3 separate regions of the Homo sapiens genome follow, and all the other regions are linked to region 3. Evidence: promoter capture Hi-C in 16 types of primary human blood cells and fetal thymus (Javierre and others, 2016). All regions are on one chromosome and are shown on one strand. The core of a region is centred on a gene start or on the middle of the fragment in contact, and the rest is flanking DNA. Distances in the headings are between cores, read along the strand shown. Region 1 has its middle 11 kb from the start of LINC02038. Region 2 overlaps LOC105374287 (a long non-coding RNA gene). Region 3 holds the start of CPN2 (carboxypeptidase N subunit 2).

What was found. Contacts are between HindIII fragments. The CHiCAGO score rates a contact against its expected background, and 5 or more counts as called.
Region 1: a fragment that was not itself captured here is called in contact with the fragment with the promoter of CPN2 in region 3 in 1 of 17 cell types (M1 macrophages); the score reaches 5.5 in M1 macrophages.
Region 2: a contact is called between a fragment that was not itself captured here and the fragment with the promoter of CPN2 in region 3, in 1 of 17 cell types (naive B cells). The highest score is 5.3, in naive B cells.

What each region holds. Positions count from the first base shown.
Region 1 is chr3:193,853,206-193,856,097 of GRCh38, forward strand. No RefSeq gene overlaps it. Among named protein-coding and RNA genes, the nearest start is that of LINC02038, 11 kb to the left of the region's middle. The HindIII fragment of the contact is 3,377 bases long and covers 1-2,892 here.
Region 2 is chr3:193,932,106-193,934,984 of GRCh38, forward strand. LOC105374287 (a long non-coding RNA gene) reads right to left here. Exons shown (of 2, transcript XR_007096293.1): 2 at 1-2,879. Among named protein-coding and RNA genes, the nearest start is that of LINC02026, 70 kb to the right of the region's middle. The HindIII fragment of the contact is 825 bases long and covers 1,218-2,042 here.
Region 3 is chr3:194,349,848-194,352,608 of GRCh38, forward strand. It overlaps CPN2 (carboxypeptidase N subunit 2), which reads right to left and starts at 1,481. Exons shown (of 2, transcript NM_001080513.4): 1 at 1,395-1,481. RefSeq lists an enhancer at 957-1,806. The HindIII fragment of the contact is 6,903 bases long and covers 1-2,761 here.

The sequences.
Region 1 (2,892 bases), core at 30-2,529, 500 kb before region 3:
GCTGGAAACTGGATGGAATTCTCATTTAATTATCACAACAGCCCTATGAGAGATGTGAACTCTCTGTTTTCAAATCATGAAACTAAGTCAAGAGAGCTCAAGAAATTTGTCCGCTATCACAAAGCTAAATAGGACTGTGGGACAGAAAGACTCCTAAGCCCAAGGACTTTTTAAATATTAGAACTTCTCCTTCCTATGGTCATCTAGTCACTGCTCAAACCCTCCCTACACACTGCTTTCCAGTTGGAGGCAGTTTTTGTTGTTTTATAGTGTTCTTCCCTGTCCTGAGCCTTCTTGTAAAGTCCACCTGTAAGTTCAACCACAAGCATGATTTTATACCTCAGGCAGGAACCAGATCTAGAGGGCATTCTAGGAGGAGTAGGCTAATAACCACATACTAGGAATGTGTTGTTTGCAAGCTGCAGGTCAGAAGAAGTTGAGGCTGGCATACAAGGAAGTATCATTCTAGGGCTGTGTCAGGCCAAGCCCACAGCTTCTGTGCTGTGGATAAGGATAAGGGACGCTGAGTTTTAGGAAGTATAAGGGCTGGCTGATACACGAGGGGAAAGCAGACAGTGAACCTCAACCCCCACACCACAGGCCCAGTTCACAGGAAGACAGCTCAGGAAGGAGACACAGGTTCTGATAAGATATAAGCTCCAGATCCCACCCTGCATTTGTCTGCAAGCCATTTCCTGGTTCATGGATGGCAGTGACCTGGAAATATGGACCACAGAGGTCATGATTCTAGAAATGCTGCCCTGCCTCACTAAATTCCCCAGCCAGCTACACCCTCTGCCTTCACAGCCCTTCGTATAGACTCCTTTACCACATAGTCTCATCATGAGTTGTTTTAATTAGTAGTCTCTCCTTTAGCCTATGCCCTTGTAGTTCAGGGGTTGGTAAACTATTACCCATGGGCAAAATCTATCCCACTGCCTGTTTTTGTAAATAAAGTTTTATTGGAACACAGCCATGCACATTCATTTTTATATTGGCTATGACTGCATTCTCTACAGCTTCAGAGTTGGGTAGTTGTAATAGGAACCACAAAGCCTAAACTACTTGTCACTTGTCCTTTTATAGAAAAAGTTTACCAACCCCTGTTCTTGAGAGCAAGGACAAAGTTCTATTTATCTTATATTCCCATTAGGGTCTTGTATCTCCAACATTATAGCCATACTTTTAAAATCTGTAAAATGACAGTGATATCTCTGTCACAGAGATATAGTGAAATATAAAGGAGATATTAATATATTTGGAGACAGGATATGCAAAATGCCTAGCACAGTTCCTGGCATAGGACAAATACTCAATAAGTATTTAGTGAATGAAGCAGAAGGTCAATCCACTCCAAATGAAATGATGCATGTGAGAGCACTTTGCAAACCACAAAGCTCTGTGATGCCATGGTGGGTTACTATCATCACTGTCAAATACAGAAATGTTCTGGAGCAAAGCCGGCTCTCCCCTCTGGCTTTCTTGATCCTGATCTTTTGGGTACAATCTCACATACAGTCTTAATTTAAGCGAATTCATAACCCAATTTTTACATGGATCCTATCCATCCCTCTCTCTTACCCTCTCCCTCTAGGTACTGGTTCTTAGGTTAAATCTTGAGTTCCTTACGTAAGAGTACCAAACAGTGACGGCTCTGGTGGTTCCGTACTGAGTCAGCCTACCTAAGCCCAAAGGACATTTCCCAGATTTTTCCTTCTTTCTATGGCCCTCGTTATGGTTGGCCATAAGAGAAATTGGCATGAGATTTGGAAAGCAGACCAACCATCACAACACTTGAAGGTTGGTGCAGGGCTACAGGTGCCATCACAGCTCATGAACACAAACAGACACCAGCATTTACCTACTTGCTTACCTCCTTAGCATGGAGCAGCGGCCAGTTCTGCAGCTCCCCTCAGCTCCTGCTGAGTTTTGGCTCAGGTGTGTGTGCACCCCTATGGTAAAGGGCACATACCTCTTCTATAGGGTTAGTTGTGGTGAAAGACAGGGAAAGGTTCCAGGTTGCCCTTGATCTCTCCTGTATCAGGTCCAGCTTATCTTCCTGCATCCTTCTCCCACTATTGTGAGAAGTCTAATTGCTATGGGAAATTATTTCATATCACTAAGAGTGACTCTGCCTCCCTGATGAAACCATGAGCAAGAAAACCTAAAGGATGAGTTCTCTGAATTGGTTCTGGAGTTGGCTCTCTGATCTGATTATATTTAAAAGCGTTAATGACTCTGATGCCAGTAGTAAAGGGGACCTGGTGGTAACAAAAGAGTTAATTACATTATCACCTATAAATACCTGTAATTAAGTGCCTATAGAAGGCAGGGCTTTGGATAACCAAGTAGTTGCTTCTGTACAATATTTCAGCAAAAATAAGGAAGATACAGATGTTGATAGGTAGCTTCTAGGTTACTGAAGAACTTGGAGAAAAAAAAAATTATGACTAAGTTCCCAATACAAAGACTAACTAAGGGAAATCTTTAGTTCCTGTGGCTATAGGGCAAATATTTCTGAAAATCAAACCCAAGGTCTAATTTTGGGAAGAATTATGCAAACTGAAATCACAACCTCACAGAGTATCTTATGGTAAAATTAGCACATTGATTAGGAAGAAGTGTGGTTCTGAGCATTGGGGTAGACATATGGGCAGATTCAGATGAAGCTGGGAGCTAGAACTTGAATTTTGCTGAGCCTTTTTTGCCAGTAGTAGAAGCACTCCCTTCCTAGCTAATGAGCTCACCTTGCCTAAAGAAACTGCAATGGCCTTTCACCGAGCCTGGACCAGAACAAATGACCAGAGGTGCCTTGCAAGAAACTACTGATTCTCCTTAAGACCTACCTACTCTCAATTCTTCTCATTGCTTCTAGACCTATAACTAGACTCA
Region 2 (2,879 bases), core at 380-2,879, 420 kb before region 3:
TCCAGATCCAACAAAATTCTTCCTGTTCTCAGGAGGCACAAGCTGTTCTTCACCACCATGGCCCTCTAACCTCCAGCACTCTAATGGAACACTGCTACTTTCTGCCAGGAGTTATAATTATTCGTGAGCTCCTAGAGGACAGGGATCATCCTGTTTTATCTTTCAACCTTGCTCTCAGGGTCTCGCACAGTGAGATCAATGACATAGTCATCCTGGCCACAGGGAAGACATACTAGTGATGTGTTACTTGGATGCAGCTATGACTCAGATGATGTGCCAAGCTTGGCTATAAACATGCAGCAAGCACACCAGCTTCTCCCTCTGCATTCTCAGCAGAGCCTGACTTCAAAAAATCACCAAAAGGAAACTTCAATCACCTGAAGTTTCTAAAAGATAAATAAGTAATGTTCAGACCACAGTTGCTCTCCAAAGGGACAGAATCCACTGCCTGAACTTGTACCATGGCCTTGAGGTGCACTCCCAGCTGTCTGCATCATGATATGGCCGGTGTCCCTGTCAATGTGCACAGGATGAGAAACTGAAGCTCCTGTTGATGAGAATCAATAACAGCAGTAATAATCTTGCCCTGGTCTGCACGAGGCAGCCCCAAAGGGGAGTCCAGCCTCATAAACTCTGCAGGAAGGTGGCCTGGCTCCATCGTTTGCCAGCTGTGTGACTGGTGCAAGTTGCTCAACCTCTCCACCAGCTTCCTCAACTGCAAAGTGAGAATCATAAGCATGCCACTCTTATAAGGTTATTGTGAGGATTTAATAAGTTAATATACGAAGAGTGCTTAGAACTGTGCCTGGGATAAATCTTCAATGAATGGTAGTTATTATTTATATTAATAATGACAACAACAAATATTATTAGAAGAAAAACATTTCTAGTGGCCTCTTCTGTTGCAGGAGGAGAAGAGGGGAGAGGAGGGGATAGGAGAGCAGGGAGGACTGGGAATGTGGGAATATGGTTTCTAGGCCTGGCTCTATGATTATGTAACTCTGTGACCAGAAGCTAAATCACGTCCTCCTCTCTCTGGACCTCAATTTCTTCCTCTGTGATATGAGGTCGTTGGACTAGATTAGAGTTTCCTAAACTGAGCTAAGCATCAGAATATTCTGGGAAGGCTTTTTAAAAATCTAGGTTCTCAGGCCCCACTTCTAGTTTACTGAATTGGGCTCTGAGACTGTGGATACCAGGAATAGTATTTGTTTTTAAGCTTCTTTGGTGAGTCAAATGCAACTAGTTAGTGCTTAGGAGCCATTGGATTCAACCAAAAACTCCAGCCTCAGGGTTTTTTTACTTACTGTTCCCTCTGCTGGGAAAGCTCTTCCCCTCAATGTTTCTTTGACTCAGCCTCTCATTCATACTACTGCACAAATGTCACCTCCTCAGAGAAAACCCTTCTGATCATCCTATGTAACTCTCCAGCCACTCTCCAACCTCTTAATGTGACTCATTCCTCCCTGTAGCACTTCTTACCATGTGCCTTGGTTGGCTGGTCATTCTCCTTGCTCCCTAGACTGTAAACTCCATGAGGGCAGGGATTGAGTTTTGTCCACCACTGCATCCTAGCAACTCTGGTATAGTGCCTGGTTCCTAAGTGGCACTTAATAATTCAGTTTTGAATTAACTAATGAATAGCTGAATGGATTGGATGAATGAATAAGTGTGCATCCACTTTGCCTCTGCCTGTAGGTCAGAATGTGGAGCTAGCCGACAGCAGCAGGGAGGTGAAGGGAAGCAGACAGCGTGCTCAGTAGAGAAACTCATGGAGAGTCTTTCCTCCTGGGAGACGTTCTAGAGTACAGCTCAAAGCCTCTCACTGTGGCTCAGCCTTCAGGGATCCCTGAAGTTCCCCAGGATTGTGGACTATGCTTCTGCTATTCCTGAGGCGATTCTCCAAGGGAGAGGTTTTTAAATCTAGCTGTCTGCCTCAGAGCTATGTTTTGGGGTTTCATAGCACTCAGATTTTCCAGGTGCTTACATTTAGGGAGGATGATGACAAACTTCTCAGCAGTCACTTTCTGGAGGGGTGGGGAAGCTTTCCTGATCTCCATTATAGAACAATATACACCAAGAGACATGATGTCATTTAAAAAGGTGTTTTAAAAAGGTGTTTGAGCTGGAAAATGTTTCCAAAAGTATTTTAGGGGGTTCATAAATGATTAATAAAATTTATAGAGGTGGGTTATTATCTTAAAAATAGAGTATATATGAAATACTTTTGAAGGTAAGATTTTATGGGCTAGCATTATATTTCCAGATTTCTAGGCCTTTAAAACATAAATATGCTGATCAGAGCTTTAAAAGAAAAAGTCCATTTTCCCATCACATTTTGTTTGCACAATTGGGATGTGGAAACTAGACACATAGATTCTGAGGTATTTAACTCATCTGTTCAATTGTTGGCCCTACCAATCAGAAATGATCAGCTTAAATATCATATCAGCATCTGTAATTTTGACTGACTTGCCAAACATCAAAACTCTCTTTTTGCCCTCTGAATAGTATTTTTTCAAAACTTTGGGGAAAATAAATAAGTCAGATAATTTATGATGTGAAAGAGCACACCTTTCCAATATTAGAGAATATTCTCTCAAGACTTAGTTGCACTGATTAAGTTTGGGCAACGTTAAGTGGATGAAATTTTTCAACAGAACATATCAGCCTTTTTCATATGTTAATGTGCGTGTGATTTTCCTGCAGGAAAAAATCAGACATAACATTTTCCAAAATATCTGATCAGGAAACTCTGTAGACCCAGACTGCCATTTATCCTCTTGTGGAGCTAGCATTCCTCAGAACACAGATAGGAAATGCTGGTCTAGTAAGGACAACTAGTGGACTGGCTTGAGTTTTTAGAAAATACGGTTTGT
Region 3 (2,761 bases), core at 231-2,730:
CTGGAGTGCAGTGACGCCATCTCTGCTCACTGCAACCTCTGCCTCCCGGGTTCAAGCGATTCTCCTGCCTCAGCCTCCCGAGTAGTTGGGATTACAGGCGCCTGCCACCACATCTGGCTAATTTTTGTATTTTTAGTAGAGATGGGGTTTCACTGTGTTGGCCAGGCTGGTCTCGAACTCCTGACCTCAGGTGATCCGCCTGCCTCGGCCTCCCAAAGTGCTGGGATTACAGGCGTGAGCCACCGCGCTCGGCCCTTTCTTGGGTCCTCGGATCCCTCTTGTACTGTGTTGAATGTTTGGGCTCTTCCGCTCTGTTTTCTAGTCAGTTGCACCCACCCGACTGAGCCCGTGGTACTGCAGTCTTGCTGTGGTGTCTCTGCAAGCAGCTCTGCACCCCAGCACCTGGCTCGGGGCCAGGCACTGAGAAGGCAGTCAGGCCCTGTGTGCTGAATTGAAGGAATGTGTTTGTGGCTTTCAGTGACTTCGCATCTCAGGCCTTACTCTCATCCTGCTTAGTAGCAGGGGAAAGCACTTTAGCTCCGCCAGTGCCCCCAGCTGGGATCAGATTCTGACGCCATCACCTACTAGCGGTGTGGGCTTGTGCAAATCACTCCAACTCTCTAAGCCTCAGGTTTTCCAGACTTAATTATCACCTCTGCCCTCAGAGTTCAAATTAGCACTCCATTGGATGATAAATAGGCTAAATAAGATAGTAAATAGAAAGCCCTTAACACAGCGCCTGGCACATACTGAATGTTCAATAAAAGGTGGCCCCCTGCAGGTTTATTTCACCACAAACTTTATTATATGAGCCAGCACGCTTCTGGGAAGGAAACCAGGAGCTAGTCATCCTTGGGCCTGAGCTGGGTGCTGTGGCATGCGCTTGTAATCCCAGCTACTCAGCAGGCTGAGTGGGAGGATCGCTTGAAGCCAGGAGTTCAAGACCAGCCTGAGCAACATAACAAGACCCCCATCTCAAAAAACAATAATTATATTAATAAATAATTAATAATATTTAGTATTAATATAGGATTAATAAGTAATTAGTAATACTATTTATTATTATTATGCCAAGATGACAAGTATAAACTAGGCAGAACCAGGCCAACCTGGACATCTGGTCACCCTGCTTATCCTCTACTCACTACCAGCCTTGTAGGCCAGGACTGGCAGATCTTCATCTCACAAACCCCCGCCCCACCTTCCTCCTGCCTCTTCCCAGCAGCGCCCTAGCTGAGCACCTCAGGGACTTCTCCTCCCGGGGCAGGGGCCCCCCAGAACCGCAGCCTGCCTGGAGCTGCGGAATGCTCTGAAACGGGGGAGATCGCAAGTTCCCGTTCCTGCCCCCACGTCCCTGCAGACCCTGGAGCCCTTCAGCGACCCCGGGAGCCTACCGTGAGGGCCGAGCGGGTGGCGCCGGGCTGCCCTGTCTTCCTCAGGAGCAGAGAGGAGTCTGGTGTGGCCTGTGGTCAGCTCAATCCAGCCCCAGCGCTGATCAAAGTTCCAGGCAGTGGTTCCTCCCCTCACGTGGCCCCAGCGTCCCAGAATGTCACCAGGGTCACAGGACGGGAGAGGGCCTTGGCAAGGCCTCTGAAGATTACAAAATGACCCTGAACTCCTCCCATGTACAGAGCCCTGCCGGGGCCAAAATCCCACCGAGGTTGCAGGGTTGGCACCTTCAGGACCCCGAGGACACTCAGAAAGCTCTAGAGATTCCCGCAGGCGGCTGGGTTGGTGAGGCCTGGGATGGGGTCCACGCTCACACCCATACCTGTGAGCAGAGGCAGAGGGACTGGGAGCCTGCCTTCAGCCTCAGGCCCCTGCTGGGCTCTCAGCGCCCGGAGGCATTTCAAGAGGGCTGTGGATTTGTTGTTTTGTCTTGTTGTGTTTGTTTGCTTGTTTAATGAATGAACTTTCTAAACCCTTCCTGAATTAGAAGGGGGAAAAGCTATAGGGAGATGAATTGGGGCCCAATATGGAGAGGAGCGCTCACACACTCAGGGCTGGCCGAGGACGAAAGATGCTGCTTTGGAAGGGAGGGATTTTCCCATCTCCGGAGGTGTGGAACCAGGGCTGCAAGACACACGGAGTGTGTGTGTGCTGAGTGCGTGCATCTGGGGGTGTGCATGTAAGTGGGTGTAAATGTGAGTGGCTGTAGGGGGTGTGTGGTGAGTGCATGTGTGGGGGTGTGTTGTGTGTGTAAGTGGGTGTATGTGTGAGTGGGTGTGTGCGCGCGTGGGTAGGGTGTGTGTGTGGTGAGTGCGTGTGTGGGTGCGTGTGTGGGTGTATGTGTGAGTGGGTGTAGGGGTGTGTGTGGTGAGTGCGTGTGTGGGGGTGTGGTATGTAAAGAGGGTGTATATGTGAGTGGGCGTGTGTATGTGAGTGTAGGAGTGTGTGTGGTGAGAGCACATGTGTGATGTGTGTGTAAGTGGGTGTATGTGTGAGTGGGTGTAAAGGTGTGTGTGGTGAGTGCGTGTGTAAGTGGGTGTAGGGGAGTGTTTGGTGAGTGCATGCGTGTGGGTGTGGGGTGTGTGTGTGTAAATGGGTATATGTGTGAATGGGTGTAGCGGTGTGTGTGGTGAGTGCGTGTGTAAGTGGGTGTATGTGTGAATGGGTATGTAAGTGGGTGTAGGGGAGTGTTTGGTGAGTGCGTGCGTGTGGGTGTGGGGGGTGTGAGTGGGTATATGTGTGAATGGGTGTAGGGGTGTGTGTGGTGAGTGCGTGTGTGTAGGTGTGCAGTGTGTGTAAGTGGGTGTATGTG